Linked DNA regions of Homo sapiens: region 2 is linked to region 1. The links are contacts of gene promoters, found by promoter capture Hi-C in human tissues and cell types (Jung and others, 2019). All regions are on one chromosome and are shown on one strand. The core of a region is centred on a gene start or on the middle of the fragment in contact, and the rest is flanking DNA. Distances in the headings are between cores, read along the strand shown. Region 1 holds the start of VCAM1 (vascular cell adhesion molecule 1). Region 2 has its middle 28 kb from the start of GPR88.

The links. The method cuts DNA at HindIII sites, captures the fragments that hold promoters and counts their contacts. A contact is called where the count stands out against the background at its distance.
Region 2: a contact is called between a fragment that was not itself captured here and the fragment with the promoter of VCAM1 in region 1, in 3 of the 25 tissues and cell types used here (H1 embryonic stem cells, mesenchymal stem cells and mesendoderm cells).

What each region holds. Positions count from the first base shown.
Region 1 is chr1:100,716,210-100,723,055 of GRCh38, forward strand. It overlaps VCAM1 (vascular cell adhesion molecule 1), which reads left to right and starts at 3,533. Exons shown (of 9, transcript NM_001078.4): 1 at 3,533-3,715; 2 at 4,267-4,542; 3 at 6,811-6,846. The coding sequence starts at 3,652. The HindIII fragment of the contact is 2,330 bases long and covers 2,543-4,872 here.
Region 2 is chr1:100,563,023-100,569,824 of GRCh38, forward strand. No RefSeq gene overlaps it. Among named protein-coding and RNA genes, the nearest start is that of GPR88, 28 kb to the left of the region's middle. The HindIII fragment of the contact is 5,988 bases long and covers 1-4,725 here.

The DNA.
Region 1 (6,846 bases), core at 2,283-4,782:
TGTGCCATGTTGGTTTGCTACACCCATCAACTTGTCATTTACATTAGGCATTTCTCCTAATGCTATCCCTCCCCCAGCCCCCTACTCTAATTATTACCATATACCATTTATATAGCATTTTACTATATTTATTTTAAGAGATTTCATATGATCAGTGTTGATTGATAGTCATAAAATGATATGAATCACTTGAAATAATACTATCTGAGCATTTGTAAATCTGCTCTGAGAGGCTACATATAGTTGTACAAGGTTTCACAATTCCTAGGTAGAATACCTGGACTTGAAGACAAGACTATTAGACTCTGAGTCCAGATCTCCTTTAAATTGTTATATATTCAATCAGTAGGGATTTACTGAGCTCCTAGTATCTACTGGTTACTATGTTAAAAGTGCTGAAGCACTAATGGTGAACAAGACATAGACATTCTTGGTTCCTCTAGAGCTAATAATCTGGTAATTGCCTACATATGAGTTGTACTTTTAGCTTTTGGTATAGCACAGAGTAATAAGTAAATTCCTTCCCCTGTGCATTAATCATTCAGTTATCACATTGCTTCATGGGTGCCTCTTCTCTAGACAAAATATGTCCTTTTTCTTCAACATAGGAGCTATTACTTTTCTCTGGACACCCTTAATTTCGTCAGCATCTTTCTTAAGGAGTGGCATTCTGAATTAGACACCCAGGCTCCCAGTATGATCTGGTGGGTGTGTAGTGCTCAGAGACTGTGGCCTCAGAAGACTTGAAGGTTGAATTACTAGGAGTGCAACCTGGACTCATCACAGCTATTTTGATTTCTCATGGCAGTGTTCATTTTTATGGTTCGTAAAATCACAAGACCTTCTTTCTGTGAATTGTGACCAAGTCAGATCTCTCCCATACTGTACTCAAACATTGGAAACATTTAAATGCTGACCTTTAATGCATTCCTATTAAATTTTACTTCGTCATCTGGAATATTATTACATACCTTGAGGTCTTCTTTATCTTGCTTCTCTCATCTCTAAGGTTGTCTTTCCCAGTTTTGCATTATTAATAGGTTAGATAATCACGTGCTGTATTAGTTTGTTTTCACACGCTGATAAAGACATACCCAAAACCAGGAAGAAAAAGAGGTTTAATGGACTTATAGTTCCACCTGGCTGGGGAAGCCTCACAGTCATGGTGGAAGGCAAGGAGGAGCAAGTCACGTCTTACATGGATGGTGGCAGGCAAAGAGAGAGAGCTTCTGTATGGGGAACTGCTCTTTTTAAAACCGTCAGCTCTTGTGAGACTTACTCACGATCATGAGAACAGCACGGGAAAGATTTGCCTCCATGATTCAGTTACCTCCCACAGGGTCCCTCCCACAACACATGGGAATTCAAAATGATATTTCAGTGGGGACAAGGCCAAACCATATTATGTGCTTTATGCTACTAATAAAAAGGTTAAACCGAACAAGTTCAAAGACAAAACTCAGTAGTACTTTATTCAGACAGGTTAGTCTAAATCTGTTAACCTTATACTTGCAACTCTGATCATTCATTAATTCTGCAAATTTTAATAAATGCTTTATTTTAAGCTAAATGCTGAGATGAAAAAATGAAACCATATGAGTTAGCAAAGTAGAAAATATAGGCATATTAATCAGTAAATGCAGAATGATAAATGCTCCATCAATATGCACTTGTTGTAGTGAGGCCACCGAGGAGGGTGCAATCCTCTCAACCTGGGAGGAGCAGGTAGGACTTCAGATGTCATCCAACTCAAAGATATAGTGAGGGACTTGATCAAACATTTGCCAAGACCACTATGAGTTAAATGAATAGATTAGGCATTTCTCCAATGTTGCAAGCTTCGAATCATATCCAAACTCAGAACAACATAGCTTGGTCATAATGATCCCAAGGATCCTATTGGCCATTGTCTTTGAGCCTCAAAGGAACATATTAAAACTCCATAATACCCTTTTGATCTATTCTGAAGTTAAGTAGTGAATTTACATGATGATGACACAAACACTGTAAAGGACCTCTGGGTTACTTGTTTATAAGCTAGTATTTCCTGAATCAATTTTTCTGATCCCTAGATATTTGGTAGGTGAAGTCATACCTATATATCCCCACACCCTAGAACAGCATCTCCAACTTATTTTTCCCTCCTTGTCTTTTAGTGGGAGCCACATCAGTATCCAAGAGGAGATCCAGAAGCCTCTCCAACCAGGTAGGGACAGTTATAGATTCCAGACCTCAGCTATGGCCTTTGTTACAGAGTACAAATGTTATATAGTACAAGTTTATTGTACACATCCCATTGAGTCTCTGAGCTTTAGAATTTTCTTGTAGAATTTAACAGTTTTTTCATGCCGTATTTACATATTATTGCTAGTATTTAGAATTTTCTTCTCCAAATGTATAACGTTTATTATTGCATTTTTTGTATCCACTAAGTGGAAAATCATGCATTAGATATTGTAGAAGTAGATACAACAATGAACAAGAACTGGTCCTGACCATGAGAGGAACTGATGATCCAATGGGGGAGATAGACCTGCACGTGTTTAATAAAAGGAAGTGGCTATTCCGGTTTCTTTTTGATGGGCAAGCATTTTGCAAGGCCTTGGGCTATGTGTGTGCAAGGCTAAGCCAGTTAGTTAATTGGGATTTTTTTAAAAAGGCACTTCACTGGGGGGAAAAGGAACATAGAGTTGGTTATTGTCCCCTTGCCTATAATAAAAACCTATTATTTTTAATTTTTTAACTGGGTTTGCGGTTAAATCTCACAGCCCAAGAGATTTGCCACTTCAGATGGATTCCATACACTTGCATTTAAGTATGCAAAAAAATTCCAATTATCCAGCAATTTAACCAAATTATTGGTAACTTTTCTAAAACAAAAAAAAATTGTTTCCCTTGTTTTGGCAGCAATTTCAGTTACAGTCCTTTACTTTCTACTCAAGAAAATAGTTTCAAAAAGTTGATGTTTGTTGCTAAAAGAACTATTTTTATGAATAAATATAAAACTAAGAAGTTATGGTGTCCCTTTTTTAAAAAATGACTCATCAAAAGAAATAACTTTTTCCTTTCTCTTGTAAGAGAAAAAAATTAATCTCTTTTAGAATTGCAAACATATTTCCTTGATGGAGAAAATCAATTCACATGGCATAGTCGTTATTTATCCAGTTCAAAAACCAGAGTAGAATTTACTACTCTGTCTCCATTTTTTCTCTCCCCACCCCCTTAACCCACATTGGATTCAGAAAGCTTCATTCTGCAATCAGCATTGTCCTTTATCTTTCCAGTAAAGATAGCCTTTTGGAGTCGAAGATGAGGAAAAGCCTGTATTTTATAGTCTTGGAAGTGTCTTCTTTTGCCAGGACAGAGAGAGGAGCTTCAGCAGTGAGAGCAACTGAAGGGGTTAATAGTGGAACTTGGCTGGGTGTCTGTTAAACTTTTTTCCCTGGCTCTGCCCTGGGTTTCCCCTTGAAGGGATTTCCCTCCGCCTCTGCAACAAGACCCTTTATAAAGCACAGACTTTCTATTTCACTCCGCGGTATCTGCATCGGGCCTCACTGGCTTCAGGAGCTGAATACCCTCCCAGGCACACACAGGTGGGACACAAATAAGGGTTTTGGAACCACTATTTTCTCATCACGACAGCAACTTAAAATGCCTGGGAAGATGGTCGTGATCCTTGGAGCCTCAAATATACTTTGGATAATGTTTGCAGCTTGTAAGTTATTTCCCTTCATCTGTTTCAAATGTTAGCATTCAATTTTAGCCCTGGTTTTGGCTTCAGTCAGTTTTGCGATAGTAGTGAAGTAAAGACACTAGGATTTTAAACAGTAGGAAAAGTTAATTTAGTCTAACTTTTAATATGCAATTGAGTTTTGCTATATACCATTGTACTGTCATAGTTAGAGCTGAAAATTGATGTTTTTGGTATCTTTTTTTCCAAAGGCAATTGAGTAATTTGGATTCTGTCTCTAGTCGGTCTGTCTCTTTAGTTTCCTATACTTGACAATGAGGTCAAACTTAGCAAATAACAAAACAGCTTTGATAAATGGGCATCAAGGTTGGAACTGAGAATTCTCTCTACTGAAGATGATTCCATAAACTTTTTTGGCAGTGACTTCGGTGCTTTTTGGCTACCTTGCAGTTAGTTTGAAGCAGCTTAGGAAAGAGATCAGTCTGATCATATTTTAGACATTATACAGAGAAGAAGGAGGAGAATACTAGACAAACTAGTGGTAAATTTGCTTCTGTCTTTTTTTGCTTTTGCAGCTCAAGCTTTTAAAATCGAGACCACCCCAGAATCTAGATATCTTGCTCAGATTGGTGACTCCGTCTCATTGACTTGCAGCACCACAGGCTGTGAGTCCCCATTTTTCTCTTGGAGAACCCAGATAGATAGTCCACTGAATGGGAAGGTGACGAATGAGGGGACCACATCTACGCTGACAATGAATCCTGTTAGTTTTGGGAACGAACACTCTTACCTGTGCACAGCAACTTGTGAATCTAGGAAATTGGAAAAAGGAATCCAGGTGGAGATCTACTGTGAGTGCTTTAGAAAATCTTTGTTTTTCTCTCAATTTTACTTTAAAATCACTTTTTAAAAATGATATTTTAAAAAAAGTTTTAAAATGGATATTCATGTACAGATTCTTGGCTAAAGAACATACAACATCAGGAAAGCTAGGGACAGCTAAGGCCAACATGAGAGAGAGCAGGAATCCAAATCTTGGCTTCTATTTCTACCTCTGCCACAAACACAGTGACCATGTATAAGACTCAACCTCTCTGGGCTCTGGTTTCCTTAGCTGTAAAATGATCATTTCTAAGTTTCTTTTTGTTTTATTAAAAAATATTTCCATTTGATTACATCCTTACATGTTTACTTGCTTATGTGTCTGATTGATTTATGAATTCCATCCTTCAGGGATTTTCTATTCATTTATTCTTATGCAATTTGATGCTTAAAATTAGTTTAAACATTAAGTAGATCTATAATTAGTAATATGTATTAGTATAAAAGTGTTCTTCTTAGACATAATTGTTAATATCTGGAAACATTTCAATCATTTGACTTTGGTGTTGACACATTTAGGATTTTTTTTTGGTTTTTTTGGTGCCATGAAGCCTTGGTGCTCAACCGCTCAACTTCAAAGATATTTATATAATGAACTAGATTTGCCTCATGAAAGTGAGTGGATGTCCCTAGTTTACCAGCCTGACAAAATGCATCCCACTCCATTCTCCATTCAGCAAACAAAGTTAGCAAGAGGAGTAAAAAACTAACCAGACATAAATCATTTGCCTTTTGTTACTGATGGCCTCTCTTTCTAAAAAACTGAACCCATTTACGGTCATGTCTTCATGAAGACCTCATTTGATTATAATTACTTTGGTTTCGTTTTATTGTACCGGAGCTCAACTTTTCCCAGTAACCTTAATTGATTCTGCAACAAACCGCATGTGTTGCTCAAGCTTCCCAAGAAACTGTGCTTGGCCGGCTGCTTTCAATTATGCTGGTTGTATGTGCATAGTTTATGTCTGTGCAGCCTCCCGAGCTCCTTGAAAGCTTCCCTTATGTAAATACAGGGAAAAGTAGCAAGTTCTTATGTTACCTGACATCGAACTGTGTGGATTAGAGGAACATTTCTTACAGAATATGAGGGACAGAAATTATTGCTGGAAAAATGAAAAATACCATGTTTCTTCACATAGGAAAGAATTTCCAGCTCCTTTGTCTTTTGCCCACTAGTACCAAATAGTTGAAGATTTAAGAAAGAGAAATGAAGACGCTTCTGGTTTTAATTATCTTGCCTGAGGTTTTTCTCCAAGAGTGTCTGTTTCTCATTATGTATAACAGTTCTGTCTCCTTTCCGCATTTGATTGTAATAGTGGTTAGAGTTGAGACCTTTGTATTCTTTTTGCTACACAGTTTTGAATCCACCAATATGTTACTTCATCATAATGCATAATGAAAAAGGTAACTCTTGCAAAGGAGGCAATGGCCACGTGAAGTAGTGTATTTCCTTGTACTAGAAGCTTCAATGGAACACTTGTTGGGATAGTGAGTTAGGCATTTCAGGAGGCAAATATGTGTTCCAGAACATAAAGATTGCACAAATGTATCTTTCTGGTGGATGAATTCCTGTCAGAGGCACCATTTTCAGAAGCTAATTACTTAAAGTTGGTCTTCTCATTTCTTAGAATATCTTGACAATAACTATTCTTTGCAATGACATTCCAAGGCTTACAGTCATTATCTGTAAAATGGAAATATATCTGCCCTGACTATAATAAGAAAATGTGATGTAACATAATGTAAATCTGTAGTAGCAAAACACAATAATGGAAATCCTGAGTTTAAATCCCAGCTTTACCATTTACTAGGTGTGTGACCTTAGACAAGTTATGTAAATGTACTAAGTCCAGGTCTTCTTTTCTGTGAAATGTGATCTCTATCTCCTAGAGTTATTGTGAGGATAAAATGAAATCATTCATGTTAAATCTATAGCACAGTGACAGCCACATGTAAGGTTCAATATAAACATTATTTTTTCTTCTTTCTTTTACTGTAATAACATGCAACTCTTAATATATACAGGATCAGAATTGAATAATGTTGTAAAAAATGTTTGCTTCCAATTCTTGTGCCTTGAACTCACCCCAAATCATGAAAGGCTATTCAAACAGTTCTGTCGTATTAAGACTGTATTAACAAAAACGCTAGACTTGATTTGTATTGTGTTAAAGTGGTAAGAGACCTTATATCACATTAGCAAAAAGCCCATCCATGTATTTGTTTGGCCTTTTCAGCTTTTCCTAAGGATCCAGAGATTCATTTGAGTGGCC
Region 2 (6,802 bases), core at 482-2,981, 150 kb before region 1:
TTATTTGTTCTAAGTTTTTCCCAAAATGTTTTGCTAAATATTGTAATACTGTCATGGGAGTCACTTCGCTTTCTACTTTATGTTTCTTTCATACGTCACTTATCTGTATGTGCAGCCCATTAACAAAATGGGCTGACATAGCCACTTCATCATTTTGGCCACTATGGCCAAAATGTTTAAATATTTTGTACTGTTTAAGTATTTTTTTCTAAGCAGAAACAATAATCCACAGCAGATTCGTCTTTTTTCTGTTTGCAAGATTGGTTTATGGCCTTGCTATGGTTTGAATATAGTTTGTCCCCTCTGAAACTCATGTTTCATCTTAACCTGCTATTAAACAGTACTGAGAGGCAGGAGGTTTAATAGGTGATTGGGTTATGTGGGCTCTGCCCTCATGAATTGATTGATAGGTTAATGGATTAATAGGTTATCATGGAAGTGGGTTAGTTATTACAAGAGTGGGTTTGTTATAAAAGCCAGTTTGGCCATCTCTAATGAACTCTTCACCATGTAATGCCTTGTGCCAACTCCTGACACTGCAGTTTCCAACAGCAAGAAGACTCTCTCAAGGTACACTCCCTAGACCTTGGACTTCCAAGCTTCTAGAACTGTTAGGAATATTTATATTTTATAAATTACTCAGTCTAAGGTATTCAGTTACAGCAGCAGAAAATGGACTAAGACATGGACCAATCTGTTCTCTTAGAAAAAGCCTCAGACATGGTTTCTTTTTAGTCTACTCTTAGAAGCATGCTTAACAGAATCTTCAAAATCTTTAATGGGATTCTTCCAATCCATTTCTTGAAGCCATTTTTGAATACCTCCAGGGCTGAGTACCACGTAAACAAATTGATATAAATCAGGGATTCCTGGATCATAAGCACCCAAAGGAATTTAAAATTCTTGTTTAAATTTAGTTTAGTCTCTTTTAAGGTCTGGAAAATTATGTGGCTTGGAGTTCAGCTAGAGATAAAAGTTTAAATTCTGCTGAGATTGGTACCCCAGGTTCATTAGAAAGTCTTATTTTAAAGGGCATTTTATGGTGAAACGGTTTGGAGGAAACAGCAAAGGATCAACAGTTAGTAGTTTCAGAATAATTAGGGAATAGATGATATAGAGAAGCAGAGAGATTTAACAGGCGGTTCTGTTGCATCAGTACAGTCAATCTGAATTTTGGTCTTTACTTTCTTATTAGCATGCTGTAAGGATTTTTTAGAGAGGTGATTCTAGAGTCATTTTGTCTTTCAGAAGCCTCTTTATACCAATTGAAGAATGTATCCCATTGTTTTGGGGAGGTTTCATATTCTCCTTTTTTCAAGGTGCCTCTAAGATAAGCTTATTTTATCTAAGTTAAAGGTTCTCCAAGTGGCTTCGGCAATTCTAAATTACCCTTAGAAAAGTTCACCCATTTTTCTGAAAAGACACAAAATCTCAGCCTATAGTTCTTAAACATGTAAGTAGCTGGAAGATTTCCAGGTGCTGTGGACTGAGAGGAACTCATCCTAACCTTTGTAGTCCTTAAGATGTCAAGTAAACCCTGGAGGGGCTAGACAAAGGAGCTACTGTTCTAGGACCCAGGGAAACAAAAATCCCTGACCTCACTTTTTGAACAGAAGAGAGCAACTTACCCCAGTTCAGACAAACCAACAGAAACAATCAAAATAACCCTTTTATGTACAACAGAAAGCTCAAATGCAGAGAGTGGTGGCATTTTGCTTTAGCAAAGAGACTGGTGTCATTTTGCCCCTGCCCTAGAGATCTGTGGAATTTTGAACTTGAGAGAGATGATTTAGGGTATCCGGCAAAGAAATTTCTAAGCAGCAAAGCATTCAAGATGTGACCTGGATTATTCTGAATGTATTCAGTTTTAGGTGCTCACAAAGAGATGGTTTGAAATTGGAACTTATATTTAAAAGGGAAGCAGAGCATAAGGGTTTGGAAAATTTGCAGCCTAACCATGTGGTAGAAAAGAAAAACCCATTTTTTTCTGGGGAGAAATTCAAGCTGGCTTCAGAAATTTGTATAAGTAACAAGGAACTGAATGTTGATAGCCAAAACAATAGGGAAAATGTCTCCAGGGCATGTCAGAGATCTTTGCAGCAGTTCCTCCTATCACAGGCTGAGACGCCTAGGAGGGAAAAATGGTTTTATGGGCCAGGCCTAGGACCCAGCTGTTCTATGCAGCCTTGGGACTTGGGGCCCTGTGTTCCAGCGGCTCCAGCTGCAGCTGTGGCTAAAAGGGGACAAGGTACAGCTCATCCATTGCTTCAGAGGATGCAAGCCCCAAGCCTTGTTGGCTACCATGTGGTGTTGGGTCTGTGGGTGTGCAGAAAATAAGAGTTGAGTTTTGGGAACCTCTGCCTAGATTTCAGAGGATGTATGGAAATGCCTGGATGTCAAGGCAGATGTCTGCTGCAGGGGTAGAGCCTCATGCAGAACCTATGTTAGGGCACTGTGGAAAGGAAATGCGGGGTTGGAGTCCCCTCACAGAGTCCCCACTGAGGCATTGCCTAGTGGAGCTGTGAGAAGAGGGCCACTGTCCTCCAGACCCCAGAAAGATAAATGGGAGGTGATTGGATCATGGAGAAGGTTTCCCCCATGCTGTTCTCATGAGGGAGTTTTCATGAGAGCTGATGGTTTTCAAGTGTTGCACTTCCTGGCTCTTGGTCTTTCTCTCACCTGCCACCATGTAAGACGGTAAGACTTGCCTTGCTTCCTCTTCACCTTCTGTCATGATTGTAAGTTTCGTGAGGCTTCCCCAGTCATGCAGAACTGTGAGTCAATTAAACTTCCTTTGTTTATATATTACCCAGTCTCAGGTAGTATCTTTATAGCAGTGTGAGAATGGACTAATACACCATTTTTACCACTTTTACTGCTTCCATCCTAGACGAAGCCACTCTCATTTACCACCACAAAAGCCTCTTAATTGGGTTTCCTGCTATTTCCCTTAATCCTTTTACAATCCATTATCAATGTAGCACATAAAATGCTTCTTTTAACCTACAAGGTAGATCATGTCATGCCTTAGCTTAAAATTCTCTAATGGAATTGCATCTTACTTTAAAAGCTAATTTCCTCTTTAGGACCTACATGACACCATGTGATGCGGCCACTATTAATCTTGCTGATCTCATCTCTTATTATCCTCCTCCTTTGTTTCTCCACTCCACACTGGCTTCCTTGCTGCTTGTCTTTGAGGTGCACTCTCACCACTCCCCTGACGTGTACAAGTAAGTACTTTTATTACCGTCTGTATATCTTTTCTGTGTTTCTTTTACAAATACGAGCTTATATAATTCTTATTTTCTTCTCTTTCTCAAACAAAAATATATACCATATAGACTTCTCTGCACCTTGGTCTTAATTAGTCTGGTAGATCTGTTCATATCAGTGTACAAAGAACTTCTTTCTTTTACAGATGACTTGTATTTCATTGAACAAGTAAATGTACCATAATTTATTTTATAAGTCCCCTGTTGGTGAACTCTTGAACTGTTTTCTAATAGGTTTTAATACAAACATTGATGCAATAACTTTGTACAGATACGTTTTAATATGTGTGAAGGTATACCTGTAAGATAGTTATGGGAATTCTTTGGTCAAAGGGTAAATGTGTTTGTAATTTAGATAAATATTGCCAAATTGTTCTTCTCATCTGCAATGTGTGAGGCAATATATGTTTTTCCACATACATCAACAACAAAGTGTACAGTCACTCTTGAATTGTGTCTACCTAAATTATAATATATGAATTCACAATGTAAATTTATTTGTATTTCCATCATTATAAGTGATAATTAATACATTATGCTTAGGTTGTTAGGGGCCATATTTTTTCTCAATGTCTATACCTTTTACCCATTTTAACTTTAGGATTATTTTTCAATTCCTCTCAATTTCTAGGAACTCTTTTTATATCAAGGTAATAAACCCTTGTCTGTGATATGGTCTGAAACTATATTTTCCTGAATTTGTTATTTGTTTTTGTCTAACAGAATTTTTTTTGTCTTGCACAGTTATATTTATTAATTGTACATGGTGCTGTCTTATATTAATGCTGTCCAAAAGAAATGTAATGCAAGTCACAAATGTGAGCCACATGGGAATTTAAAATATTTAAAACACCACCTTAAAAAAGTAAAAAGAAAAAGAAAAAGTAAAAAAGTAAAAAGAAAAAGAAAAAAAGTAAAAAAAGTCATTACAAGTTTTTCAGGAAAGAGTTATATGAACAATAAATGCTGAGTTTTGAAAATTCAAAACTATTTGTTTATAGCCTTTATGGCTGAAGGACAACATGGCTGGATATACAATTTTGATGTACAGTTTGTTTCTTTTGAGAGTCTTATAGGTTTTGTTACTCTGTATTCCGGTGACAGATGAGAGATATAATGCCAAATGGATTTCTGTTTCTTATAAGTGACTTGACTTTTGTTTTCTTTGCCTGACTTCCAAAGGATTCTTTTTCTATATTCTTTTAAATCTTTAAAGTGTAATAATTTTATTGGGATATTTTATTGTTGAATATTCTGGATCAGTTTTCCCTTTTATACAATTGTGATGGTTAATACTGAGTGTCAACTTGATTGGATTGAAGGATACAAAGTATTGACCCTGGGTGTGTCTGTGAGGGTGTTGCCAAAGGAGATTAACATTTGAGTCAGTGGGTTGGGAAAGGCAGACCCACCCTTAATCTGGGTGGGCACAGTCTAATCAGCTGCCAGCATGGCTAGAATATAAGCAGGCAGGAAAATGTGAAAAGAGAGACTGGCCTAGCCACCCAGGCTACATCTTTCTCCTGTGCTGGATGCTTCCTGCCCTCAAACATAGGACTCCAAATTCTTCAGTTTTGGAACTCAGACTGGCTCTCCTTGCTCCTCAGGCTGCAGACGGCCTATTGTGGGACCTTGTGATCATGTGAGTTAATACTTAATAAAGTCCCGTATATCTGTGTCTATGTCTATGTCTATGCCTATGTCTATGTCTATGTCTATGTCTATGTCTATGTCTATGTCTATGTGTATATCTATGTCTATCTCTATTTCTATCTCCATCTATCTCTATCTCTATCTATCTCTATCTCTATCTCTATCTCATCTATTCCATTAGTTCTGTCCCTCTAGAGAACCCTGACTAATACAGATTTTGGTACCAGGAGTGGAGTTCTAGAGGAACAGAATATTAAGGATGGAGTTCTTTAATTGGTTTTGGGGTTTCTGGAGTTGGCTGCTTAATATGATTAGACCCCAAAATGCTAAGGACTCTACTAAAAGTATGGAGAACACTGATAGTCCTTGGCATGAACTGTTTAGAGAGTTATGCAAAATAAATGCATTTGACACTCCTGATTCATCGTTTGTGAGAGGCAAGGAGTTTAGTGACTCTAGACATTGTACCTTTGACCATATGTGGAGAACCAAGGAACATAATGAAGCTGGTTGGGTATTCCTAAGTTCAGTGGACAAAGTGATGAAGGAACATGATGAACTCAGGGATTCTATCGCCTAGCTTCAGAAGCAGATATTGAGGCTCAAACCTGCTAAGATTGCCCTGGGTGAGAGTCTTATCTCCTGTAGAGAAAGAGCTGAAACTGTGGAAAAACAGACACAAGCTCTTATCTTGTGAGCAAATGATCTGCAATGAAAGGAGCATGCACAGCCTTGCCAGGTGTCTATTGTTAAAAGTCAGGAAACAACAGATGCTGGAGAGGATGTGGAGAAATGGAAATGTTTTTACAATGTTGGTGGGAGTGTAAATTCGTTCGACCATTGTGGAAGACAGTGCAACGATTCCTCAAGGATCTAGAACCAGAAATACCATTTGACCCAGCAATCCCATTACTGGGTTTATACCCAAAGGATTATAAATCATTCTTTTATAAAGACACATGTACACATATGTTTATTGCTGCAGTATTCACAACAGCACAGACCTGGATGCCCATCAATGATAGATTGGATAAAGAAAATGTGGCACATATACACCATGGAATACTATGCAGCCATAAAAAGGGTGAGTTCATGTCGTTTGCAGGGACATGGATGAAGCTGGAAACCATCATTCTCAGCAAACTAACACAGGAACAGAAAACCAAAGACCGCATGTTTGCACTCGTAAGTGGGAGCTGAACAATGAGAACACATGGGCACAGGGAGGGGAACATCACACACCAGGGCCTATCAGGGGGTGGGGGGCTAGGGGAGGGATAGCATTAGGAGAAGTACCTAATGTAGATGACTGGTTGATGGGTGCAGCAAAAAACCATGGCACATGTATACCTATGTAGCACACCTGCACATTCTGCACATGCATCCCAGAACTTAAAGTATCTATATCTATATTTATATCTATATCTATAGTTTTCTACTTTATATGTATCACCATAGCAGCTGGTGCAGAGCTCAGGTGTTTAGAATATTCATTATTTGCTAGATGACCATTATTTCTATTTTCTCTACACCACTCTTTTCAAGATGGTTTTAAAAAACAAAGAAAGGTCTTTGTTTGTCTAATAGCTTTATTGAGGTGTAATTGAAATATAATAAACTGTGCACATTTAAAGTATACAAGTAGGTGCATCTTAACATATTTATACACCATTGAACCTATTACTACATCAAGATAGTGAATATTTCCATCACCTGTAAAAGATTCCCTATGCCCTTTACCTTCCTGCTTATCCCTAGGAAACCACTAATCTCCCTTTTTTCCCACTATATGTTAGATTTTTTTTTAATTTTTAGAATTTTATATAAATGGAATTATATAGTACTCTTAAAAATAATCTTTTGGTGATGAGACA